2 separate regions of the Homo sapiens genome follow, and region 1 is linked to region 2. Evidence: promoter capture Hi-C in human tissues and cell types (Jung and others, 2019). All regions are on one chromosome and are shown on one strand. The core of a region is centred on a gene start or on the middle of the fragment in contact, and the rest is flanking DNA. Distances in the headings are between cores, read along the strand shown. Region 1 has its middle 18 kb from the start of ETV4. Region 2 holds the start of ARL4D (ARF like GTPase 4D).

Evidence for each region. Contacts are between HindIII fragments. The study calls those that stand out against the background at their distance.
Region 1: a fragment that was not itself captured here is called in contact with the fragment with the promoter of ARL4D in region 2 in 1 of the 25 tissues and cell types used here (spleen).

What each region holds. Positions count from the first base shown.
Region 1 is chr17:43,561,695-43,567,516 of GRCh38, forward strand. No RefSeq gene overlaps it. Among named protein-coding and RNA genes, the nearest start is that of ETV4, 18 kb to the left of the region's middle. The HindIII fragment of the contact is 6,893 bases long and covers 1-5,348 here.
Region 2 is chr17:43,396,661-43,402,252 of GRCh38, forward strand. It overlaps ARL4D (ARF like GTPase 4D), which reads left to right and starts at 2,333. Exons shown (of 2, transcript NM_001661.4): 1 at 2,333-2,433; 2 at 3,001-4,477. The coding sequence starts at 3,073. The coding sequence ends at 3,678. RefSeq lists an enhancer at 2,457-2,960. The HindIII fragment of the contact is 9,238 bases long and covers 572-5,592 here.

The DNA.
Region 1 (5,822 bases), core at 652-3,151, 160 kb after region 2:
GGCTCACGCCTGTAATCCCAGCACTTTGGGAGGCCGAGGTGGGTGAATAAACTGAGGTCAGGAGTTCGAGACCATCCTGGCCAACATGGAGAAACCCTGTCTCTACTAAAAATACAAAATTCGCCAGGCGTGGTGGCGCATGCTTATAGTCCCAGCTACTCGGGAGGCTGAGGCAGAAGAATCGCTTGAACCTGGGAGGCGGAGGTTGTGGTGAGCTGAGATGGCACCATTGCACTTCAGCCTGGGCAACAAGAGCGAAACTCCTTCTCAAAAAAAAAAAAAAAAAAAAGAAAGAAAAGAAAGTTTCCCAAAGTCACAGAGCTAGTGAATAGCAAGGGGAGTCAATGAGTAAGCTCAGGCCAGCAACCCTGCAAATCAGATCTCTCTCCAGCAGAGGTGTGCTCTGAGTGTCCCAGGGATTTGAGAGAGGGGCTCTGCTTGGGGAAGTGGGGAGGCAGCATTTGAGCCAGTCCTCATGGGATGAATGAAATTTCTTCCTAGGAGAGGGGAGAAGGTTCCAGGTTTAAAGAAGCAGCATTTGCCAAGGTGTAGGAGCCAGAAAGGAAATCCTAGGGGAGAGACAAATTTGGGGGTAGTCCTCAAAATTCCTACCCTCAGGCTAGGGAGTGTGAGCATTTTGAAGACCTTGTTTAGGAGCTTGTATTATATCCTATAGATCATGGGAGTCACTGGGGTCGGGGGCAGGGTGGCGGAGCATGGGTAGGTTAAAGCAATTCTGACTGAATCAGACCCTAGGCAAGAGGAAGGAGGTCACTGCCTTGGAATCTTCAAGAGTCGCTCATCCCTGATCCTGTCCCCCTTTTGCCACATAAGATGTGATGCCATCACTCAACTCATCATTCACCAACAAGCTATGGGGCCTGGAACCTTTCTATGCCTCAGTTTCCTCATCTGTAAAACGGCAATACTAGTAGTACCTGCCTCAGAGACCTGGGTGTGCAGGTAAATTGAGATGCTCTAGGGAAGCTCAGGCTTTCAGTAAGGGATCAATAAAGGCTAGTTCCTGTTATCAGATGTTACCTCCCCACCCTGTCCCGGGTCCAGTCAGCATCTCGAAGTCCTGACTCTCAGGAATGCCCCCACTCCGCCTACCAGTCTGATCTAAATCCCTCTGCTGCAGATGGAGCCCAGCTTCCCTGACAGCCTTTCAGGACGGGAAGCTCCATGTTTAGTGTTCCCCACCCTCGTCCAGCCTCTCTAATCTCAGCTCTTCCCTTTCCCCTCCCCTGTGATTATCATAAACCCTCTCGAGTTAGGCAGGCTTGGCTGGGCCCCATGCCCCTTTGAAGTCCCAAGCCAGGTTCCCAGCCTCACACACTGACTTCTGAGAAAGCTGCTTCCCATCAAATCCTGCCGCCAAAAAGACTCTCCTCTTAGGTATTCCTGCCAACTCCGTTTTATAATCTCCGTGCCGGGGAGGGAGGACAGTTCAGGCACTTTGTCTGCAGGAAGGAAGCAATTAAATTATTAGCACTTTGAGAAATTAAACGACATAACTTACGGCGGAATAAGTTTAGCCAAAAAAAAAAAAAAACCTTGTAATGTGAGAAAACAATTAAAAAGAATTATATAAGGTTGGGCTCGCTCCTTTATTGCAATAGAGTTAGCAGTTCATTGATTATCGTCCTGTTATAATGCAGCAGGATGGTGCGGGCTGCTGCGGAGGCAGCGACATTCAGGAAGCAAAGCGCTTAGTTGGGTCCTGCAAGAAGAAGAGGTGGGGGAGCTGAAAGGTTTTCCTGGAGGGCAAGGGGGAGGGGAGAGTGGGGTCAGAGGAGGATCACCAAAGCAGCAGCTCTTCTTCCCTTCTCCCTGCTCCTGCCTTGGTAGACATGGAAAAGAGCTAGTCAATTTCAGCAGTTTGTCAGTTGCTGGGGCAGTCAATTCCCTGTGCCCAAAAGATTCTTTTCCTAGGTATTCATCCAGTGAAATGTTCACACGGCTCCATAAGGAGATGTGGATGAGGATGATCAGAGCAGCCTCATAGGAGGCACCCTGGGTGTCCCTCACTGGGAGAGTGGAAAGGTCAAGTGGGTGGAAGCACCAAGGGGCGCCAGGTAGCAGCAAGAAGCACTGACGCCTGTACACAGAGCCCCGCGATAGATCTCAAAAACGTAGTGCTCCGCAACAGCAAAAAATACAAATTCTCTCTACCCGCAACGACATAGGGGAGTCTCCCAGACAAGTTGAGCAAAAGAAGCAAGACATGAAAGACAGGTACGATTCCATGCAGAGGAAGTTCAAGAAAAAATTCAATGAATGGGTGGAGATGGGAGCTGGAAGAGTGGGTACCTCAGGCAGGGAAGGGGGCAGTTTATTGACTGTGAAGGGACACAAGGGAAACTTGGCTGGGGTACTGGAAATGTTCTATATTTTGATCTCGGTGATGATTACACAGATGTATATGTAGGCTAAAAATCGAGTTTCATATTTCAGATCAGTGCACATTACTCACTTTACCGTATATATGTTATACCTCAACAGGAAAGGAAAGAGCAAACAAATGTTGTAGAGGAAAAAAATTGTAGGAAACAAAATATATAACACAATGCTATTTATGTAAATAAACCCCATGCCTACGAAATAACTACCCATCCTGAAAGAACTCAGCAAACAGATTGGGTGCAGTGGCTCATGCCTATAATCCCAGCACTTTGGGATGCTGAGGTGGGGTGATCGCTTGAGCCCAGGAGTTCAAGACCAGCCTGGACAACACAGTGAGACCCCATCTCTACAAAAAAATGAAAAAAATTACAGTGGCATGTCCTTGTAGTCCCAGCAAGTTAGGAGGCTGAGGTGAGAGGATTGCTTGAGCCCATGAGGTCAAGGCTGCAGTGAACTCTGATCTCACCAGTTCACTCCAGCCTGGGTGACAGAGAAGACCCTGTCTCAAAAAAAAAAAAAAAAAAAAAGGGAATGTATGAATGAATGAAACCAAGAGCAGGGCACTACACAGACCAGTTATGACAACAGGCCATGAACGGAGAGTATGGTAGACTCAACCCTCTCCTTCCGAAGTAGAAGCTTGTAGAAAAAGTGCTAATTAATCATATCAGGAGGTCTTTGGGCTGGGTGTGGTATGTGTAGGGTGTTGGGGCATTTTGATCTGGGGAGTGAGTGTAGATTCAGTCACTGATGCCTACCAGGAGGAAAGGGAGGTACAGATCTAGCATTTGTAAACTTCTCTGCAGTTTGCAAAGCAATGCCATGTCTACCACCTCAGAGAGCCTCACATAGGGTGTTTCCTGGAGGGAGTGAACTGGAGCCAGCCCGCCTGCTACCACCCCAAGATGGGTTTCCCTGGCAGGTGATCTAACCTCTCTGCATCTGGGCCATGGGGATGATAAAAAGAATGTCTAGAGTGAGAGGGGAGTTAGAACACAGTTTAGAGAAGGGGTCAGCCACCTTTTTCTTCTCTTTTCTTTTTTGAGACAGAGTTTCGCTCCTGTCACCCAGGCTGGAGTCCAATGGTGCGATCTTGGCTCACTGCAACCTCCGCCTCCTGGGTTCAAGTGATTCTCCTGCCTCAGCCTTCGGAGTAGCTGGGATTACAGGTGCCCGCCACTGCGCCCAGCTAATTTTTGTACTTTTAGTGGAGATAGGGTTTCACTATGTTGGCCAGGCTGGTCTTGAACTCCTAACCTCAGGTGATCCACCCGCCTTAGCCTCCTAAAGTGCTGGGATTACAGGCACGACCCACTGTGCCCGGCCCAGCCACCTTTTTCTATAGAAGGTCAGGTGGTAAATATTTTAGCCTTTGAGGGCCATAAGGTCTCTGTCATACCTACTCTGGAAGCAGCCATAGATGTAAATGAATGAGCATGACTGTGTTCCAACAAAATTTTATTTATGGACACGGACATTTGAATTTCATGTAATTTTCATATGTCACAAAGTATTATTCCTTTTTTTAACTTTTAGGTTCAGGGGTACATGTGCAGGTTTGTTATATAGGTAAACTTGTGTCACGGGGTTTTGTTGTACAGATTATTTCATCACCTAGGTACTAAGCCCAGTACCCAATATTTGTTTATTTATTTATTTTTTTAGAAATAGGGTCAGCCGGGTATGGTGGCTCACGTCTGTAATCCGAACACTTTGGGAGGCCAAGGTGGGCAGATCACTTGAGGTAAGGAGTTTGAGACCAGCCTGGCCAACATGGTGAAAATCCATCTCTACTGAAAATACAAAAATTAGCCAGGTGTGGTGGCACAGGCCTATAGTGTCAGTTACTTGGGAGGCTGAGGGAGGAGAATAGCTTGAACCCGGGAGGCAGAGGTTGCGGTGAGCTGAGATCGCACCACTGCACTCCAGCCTGGGTGACAGAGCGAGACTCCGTCTCAAAGAAAAAAAAAAGAGAGAGACAGGGCCTCACTCTGTTGCCCAGACTAGAGCACAGTGGCACCATCATGCTCACTGCTGGCTGGAACTCTTGGGCTCAAGTGATCCTCCTGCCTCAGCTTCCCAAGTAGCTAGGGCTACAGGCACATGCCATCACACCTGGATAATTTTTTAATTTTTTGTTGAGACAGAGGTCTTGCTACATTGCCCAGGCTGGTCTCGACTCCTAGCCTCAAGGGATTCTCCCACCTAGGCTTCCTAAAGTGCTGGGATTACAGGTTGAGCCACCACGCCCAGCTGTGAAGTATTATTCTTTTGATTTTTTTTTTCAAACCTTTTAAAAATGTAAGAATGATTCTCAACTTGCAGGCTGTACACAAACAGGTAGGAGGCCATAACTGCTGACCCCTGGTCTAGAGGATAAATGAGTTGGAGCAGTCCTTGGCACATAGCAAGTGCTCAAGAAACCTCAGTTATTATCATTCTCACCCCTGTTGTACAGATGAGGGGCAAAGTGACTTATCCAGGTTTACCAGGGAGTTCACGGCAGAACTGGGCCTCTCATCTGGATCTCCTGAGTCTCAATCCACTTTGAACAAATGCTCAAGAAGGAAAGAGTCTAAGTTGTACATGACATCCCTTTTTCCAGGGCCCACATCTTGCAGCACAAAGTCTGGCTTCTAGAGAGACTAGAGCTCCTCTATGCTCTTGTTTCCTGCAGCAGCAGTGTGCTGAATTTCCTGATGTGGATGTCATTATGGGTCATCCAAGTGCACCTCTAGTTACATTTATATAAAGTTCAAATCCAGGCAAAGCTAATCTGTGCTATTATTATTAGAAGCCAGGAGAGTGGGCGGGGCACGGTGGCTCATGCCTATAATCCCAGCATTTTGGGAGACTGAGGCAGGCAGATCACCTGAGGTCAGGAGTTCAAGACCAGCCTGGCCTACATGGTGAGACCCTGTCTCTACAAAAGTACAAAAATTAGCTGAGCTTGATGGTGGGTGCCTGTAATCCCAGCTACTCGGGAGGCTGAGGCAGGAGAATCGCTTGAACCTGGAAGGCAGAGGTTGCAGCCAGCCGAGATCGCGCCATTGCACTCCACCCTGGGCAACAGAGCAATACTCCATCTCAAAAATAAATAAATAAATAAAGAAGCCAGGAGAGTGGTTACCTCTGGAAGGAGACACATGGAGGCTTCTGGGGTTGAGGAAACGTTCTGTCTCTTGATCTGGGAATGGACTTCGTGAAAAGGCATCAGACCTACACTGGGTACATTTCTAGGCAGATGTTCTAATCCAATAAAATGTACATAGAAGTAGCCCCAGCCGGGCGCAGTGGCTCATGCCTGTAATCCCAGCACTTTGGGAGGCCGAGGCGGGTGGATCACAAGGTCAGGAGATCGAGACCATCCTGGCTAACATGGTGAAACTCCGTCTCTACTAAAAATACACACACAT
Region 2 (5,592 bases), core at 1,083-3,582:
TTCACCATGCTCAGGTCTGTCTCCTGTACGTTAGCTGCTGCTGCAACCTGTCACCCTCCAACTTGGGGTGTAACAAACTAATTTCCTAAGGTCTTAATCTTAGACTAATTTCCTAAGGTCTTTAGGGATTTGGGGAGGCTCCCTGCATTGCTGGGGAAACCAGGTGGCTGGTTTTGTAGTGGAGGGGAGAAAAAGGAGGTGGCAAAGCACACTGGTGACAAACAGATGGGAAGCTTATTTATCAGCACTTGATTGAGGAGGGTGGGCAGGAAAAGGCTGGGCCGTGCTGTCTGGCAATGACTTCCCTTCTCCTTTTTCCAATCCCTCTCACACATAGCCCTTAAAAAGATTAATACTGAATTACACAATAAATAAAATAATCCACGCCTGTAAATCCCAACACTTTGGGAGGTCGAGGCGGGCGGATCACCTGAGATCGGGAGTTCGAGACCAGCCTGACCAACATGGAGAAATCCTGTCTGTACTAAAAGTACAAAATTAGCCGGGCGTGGTGGCACATGCCTATAATCCCAGCTACTCGGGAGGCTGAGGCAGGAGAATTGCTTGAACCTGGGAGGTGGAGGTTGCAGTGAGCCGAGATCGCACCATTGGACACCAGCCTGGGTAACAAGAGCAAAACTCTGTCTCAAAAATAAATAAATAAATAAATAAATAAATAAATAGATAAAGTTACAATTTACAATTTCATTCTTCTTTGATTGGCCCTCTTCTCTCCCCCACCTAATTGCTGTTGTCCTTTTGGTCACACTGCCCTTTGTGACATCTCCTTCCTTTCAGGGCTGCCCAGACTGTAGCAGGCTGCAGTGGCTGGGGAGACCCTACTCATTCCTGTGCCCCTCCTAACCAGTCCTAGATAGGGCTAAAGAACGTCTATAAACCTTTTCAGAAGCTTCCAGTTGACACATTCTCTCTCTTCTCTGAAATCCTACAAGTGCTATCTCATGATTTACAAAGACCCAATACATGTGCTGTCTCATTCTGTCATTGCCAGTCTTAAGTCTTAAGCCCTTTGAGGCCTGATTCTACAGCCGAGACATCCTCTATTTCTCCACCATCTCTCTGTCTCATTCAGAGCACACAGTATGAATGAGGTCAATAAACACAGTGTTTTTTGTTTTGTTTTGTTTTGTTTTTGTTTTTTTTGAGACAGAGTCTTGCTCTGTTGCCCAGGCTGGAGTGCAATGGTGTGATCTCAGCTCACTGCAACCTCCGCCTCCCGGGTTCAAGTGATTCTCCTGCCTCAGCCTCCCGAATAGTTGCAATTACAGGCGCCCGCCACCACACCCAGCTAATTTTTGTATTTTTAGTAGAGACGGGGTTTCACCATGTTGGCCAGGCTGGTCTCGAACTCCTGACCTCAGGTGCTTCGCCCACATCGGCCTCCCAAAATGCTGGTATTACAGGCGTGAGCTACCGTGCCCAGCCCAATAAACACACTGGTTTTTTTTTTTTGTTTGCTTTGTTTTGAGACAGAGTCTTGCTCTGTCGCCCAGGCTGGAATGCAGTGGCGCTATCTCAGCTTACTGCAACCTCCGCCTCCCGGGTTCAAGCGATTCTCCTGCCTCAGCCTCCCGAGTAGCTGGGATTACAGGCACCCGCCACCACGCCCGGCTAATTTTTGTCTTTTTATTACTGATGGGGTTTCACCCTGTTGTCCAGGCTGGTGGAACTCCTGAGCTTAAGTGATGTGCCTGCCTCAGCCTCCCAAAGTGCTGAGTTTACAGGTATGATCCACTGCGCCTAAACATACTGTTGAGTGTAACCTCAAATAGGTCATTTAACCCTTCAGGGCTTTGTGTATCTGTAAAAGGCAGACAACAGTCCCTAACAGGCTATTGCAGATAATGGGCTTAGCACTATGAAGCAGCTGTTTTATGGGGCTCCAGGTTCACCTTAGGTTTGACAATTGAATTATGAAAGATAAAGGAGAAAGACTTGTCAGCCTCTCCGAGTAGATCCTTTGGCCGAAGGAGTGTCCATGTGGGGTGGTATCTCGGCCTGGTGGAGGGGGATGCGATGGTAGTGAGAATATTAGGGTATTCATATCTTTCCTCCCGAGTCAAACGTTGCCAGGCACGTTCCTTTCGCCCCTCCCACCCTCCATTCTGCATTAATTCCAAGTTTAATTCCAAATATTAGAGTGTGGTAGAAAAGGTCAAATAGAGCAGCCACGGATTAAGCAAACGCCCCTCCGCGTATGGTGGGGGCTGCAGCGCCCGTAGCTCCACGCTCCGCCCCGCCGCCGCTGATTGTCCCGCGCCTTGTGACGTCACACGCGGGTTTTTAAGGCCGAACCCTAGGCAGGCTCTGCAGAGGCAGCGGTTGGAGGCGCGGTGGGTGTCTGCGGGGGTCTCGCGGGGCGGCTGCGGTGTTTCACCGGGAAAGGCTCGAGGAGAGCGCGGCTCACGAGAGGTAAACGGACCCTGCAGACCGTGCTGAGGCGGTCCCGGTGCCGGGCCGCTGGAGCTGGGGTCGGCCATCGGAGGAGGGCGGGCGGGCAGGAGAGTGTCGCGGGGCGGTGGGGCGAGGGTCGCGGAGTAAGGAAGGGCACCGTGTCAACGGCTTGGGGCTGCGGAGGGCGGGTGGGAGCCGGACTCAATCTCCGGTCTCAGCGTCTGCACCCTAGCTCTTAGTTTGGGGGCACTGTCGACTTCCCCCGTCCCTCGGGGATCTTGCCTGGGGGATGGCGCCATAAGCTCTGAGAAGAGGCTCTAGAAGCCCACTGTCCATGGATCGAGCCCTCACCCCCCACTTGAGTGGCCCAGGACCTGGGAGTCTCTCTAGGTCCCATCGCCCCCCTCACGACCCCCCCAGGGAGTGGGGGAACACCTCTGTTATGCCTTAAAAAAAAAAAAAAAAAGGAAAGGAATTTTAAAAATGAAGGATGGGAGGGTGATTTAGGAAGGGATCAAGAAGTTGCAAATCTTGTGTGTATTATTAAACGTCTCCTTTTTCTCCCATGACCTTTTCTTGGTTCAGATAACCCAGCTGTGCTCCCTGGAACCTTCAATTTCAAGGCCTCCCTGCCTCTACTAGGCGCCTTAGCTCACTATGGGGAACCACTTGACTGAGATGGCGCCCACTGCCTCCTCCTTCTTGCCCCACTTCCAAGCCCTGCATGTCGTGGTCATTGGGCTGGACTCTGCTGGAAAGACCTCCCTCCTTTACCGCCTCAAGTTCAAGGAGTTTGTCCAGAGTGTCCCCACCAAAGGCTTCAACACCGAGAAGATCCGGGTGCCCCTCGGGGGATCGCGTGGCATCACCTTCCAAGTGTGGGACGTCGGGGGGCAGGAGAAGCTGCGACCACTGTGGCGCTCTTATACCCGCCGGACAGACGGTCTAGTGTTTGTGGTGGACGCTGCGGAGGCTGAGCGGCTGGAGGAAGCCAAGGTGGAGTTGCACCGAATCAGCCGGGCCTCGGACAACCAGGGCGTGCCAGTGCTGGTGCTGGCCAACAAGCAGGACCAGCCCGGGGCACTGAGCGCTGCTGAGGTGGAGAAGAGGCTGGCAGTCCGAGAGCTAGCAGCCGCCACTCTCACTCATGTGCAAGGCTGCAGCGCTGTGGACGGTCTGGGCCTGCAGCAGGGCCTTGAGCGCCTCTATGAGATGATCCTCAAGAGGAAGAAGGCAGCTCGGGGTGGCAAGAAGAGACGGTGACCCAAGCCCCCCCTCCCTTTCCTCCCACCTAGTAGGGGTCTGCACACTTGGACAGCAGGGTGGGACCAGCCTGTGACCTCTCAGTCAGACTGGGGTGCAGGACCTGTCCACCTCAATGAAGGAGAGAGGAGCATGGGGTGTCCCGTTTTGGTGCCACACTGGGGTGGGGATGGGAGATGGGATGTCTTTGCATATCTCTCTCATCCTCTCTGGAGAAGTGGGCGCTGCAGGACTGTGGAGACGTAAATGTAAACTGTGACTCTACCTCGACCCTGTTTCTTATTTTTCTTCTCTGGCTAAAAATTTTTAATTGGATGTGTTTGGGGGCGGGGGGATGGAAGTGACTTGGAGAATGTGTTTGGGATGAAATAACTATCTCCCCTTCCTCTGTCCCCCAACTGGGGAGTCTCCCCAGGCTGCTTTTCTAGGAATACCAGTCACATAGTTTTTATTTTTGTGTCTGTGAAAGTGCCAAGAACCCCTCCCCACATTTGTAGATCCATGACCCTTTTTATAAGCTGTGTGTGTCCTCTGTATTATTGTTATTAACTATTTTTTAGCATTTGCCTGTAAGTTATTAAAGACTGATAACTGTAGCTCTTACCTTGGTCTGGGGCATTTTCCTCTCCTTATCTTGCCCCAGAGACAATTCAAGATTTCTATATGGGGTTGTGGCGCAGGGGGAGGGAGATTTATCTTGAAGCTGAATTTGCAAAGCAAGCACTTATAAAAATTAGATTGTGTGTTACGGGATGGCTTGTGAAAATTATAGGGGGGAGTGGAAAACCCCTCAAGCTATTGCCTGATCTCTGTAGTTTTTTGGGTGGGGTCACTTCCTTTTTCTCTGATTTAACACCCCTCCCCTCATCCTCTGGGTCTTACTTGTCCCTTATATCAACTGCTCCTTGCAGATTTAACTTCAAATTTTGCTAGTCTGAGCTACTCCTAGGTTCTTGACCTTGGTGACACCTAAGTCTATATAGGTAAGTCCTCAAAGAGCCATTCTGTTCCCATCCTCCCCACTTCCCCAGTCTTAGGTTGGTTTGATTTTTTTCCTCCTTGTAAGATGTGGTGAGAGTGGAAAGTAATTCCTCCCTGGCCTTAAGTCACCTCTGTGTACTCAATCCTGCTGACTGGCTCACTGGCATGATGGCAGCGGCTGGTGCTAGGGAGGCCTGGGCTGGATTGAGCCAGCCTGGCCCTGGTGACTAAGCCATGAGTTTTCCAGCTCTGGGAATGGTAGCTCTTCTCACGAGAGGGGCAGAAGTAGTAGCTGTTTGTGCTTGGTGGCAGAGAGGACTGCTGGACATACACCCTCCAGACTCCAAGATAGAAGGGGGAAGACATAAGCCCCCAGTATTTGTGGTGATTGTAAGAATAAAATGCTAATATTACAAGGGCTTGAGTGCCCCTACTCACCAGCACCAGGGCCAGCTATGTCTGATAACAGAACCCTTAGATCCTCTTAATCTTCTGGGTGGGAGCAGTGAGTAAGAACTAAGCACAAGGCCGGGCACAGTGGCTCACGCCTGTAATCCCAGCACTTTGGGAGGCTGAGGCAGGAGGATGGCTTGGGCCCAGGAGTTCAAGACCAGCCTGGGCAACATAGGGAGACCATGTCTCTAAAAAAGAAAAAAAACAAGCACAATTCTTTCCAGTTGTCGAGCCCTCCAGCCACCCCCTGCCACCTTTTGTGCAAACACACAATCCCCAGAGCAGGTTCAGCGTTCACACCCTGCTTCTCCCCAATTCTGTCTCCTCTTCTCCGGAATCAGATGAAAGGACCTGGGGAGAAAGAGAAGGTGCCGGCAACCCCCACTTCTGGGGAAGGTTTCCTAAAGAACTTGCTTCTTCCTACCCAGCGCTGCCAGAAGCTCAGATTTGGTCCCCTCCCCATCCCTGTAGCTGGCAGGA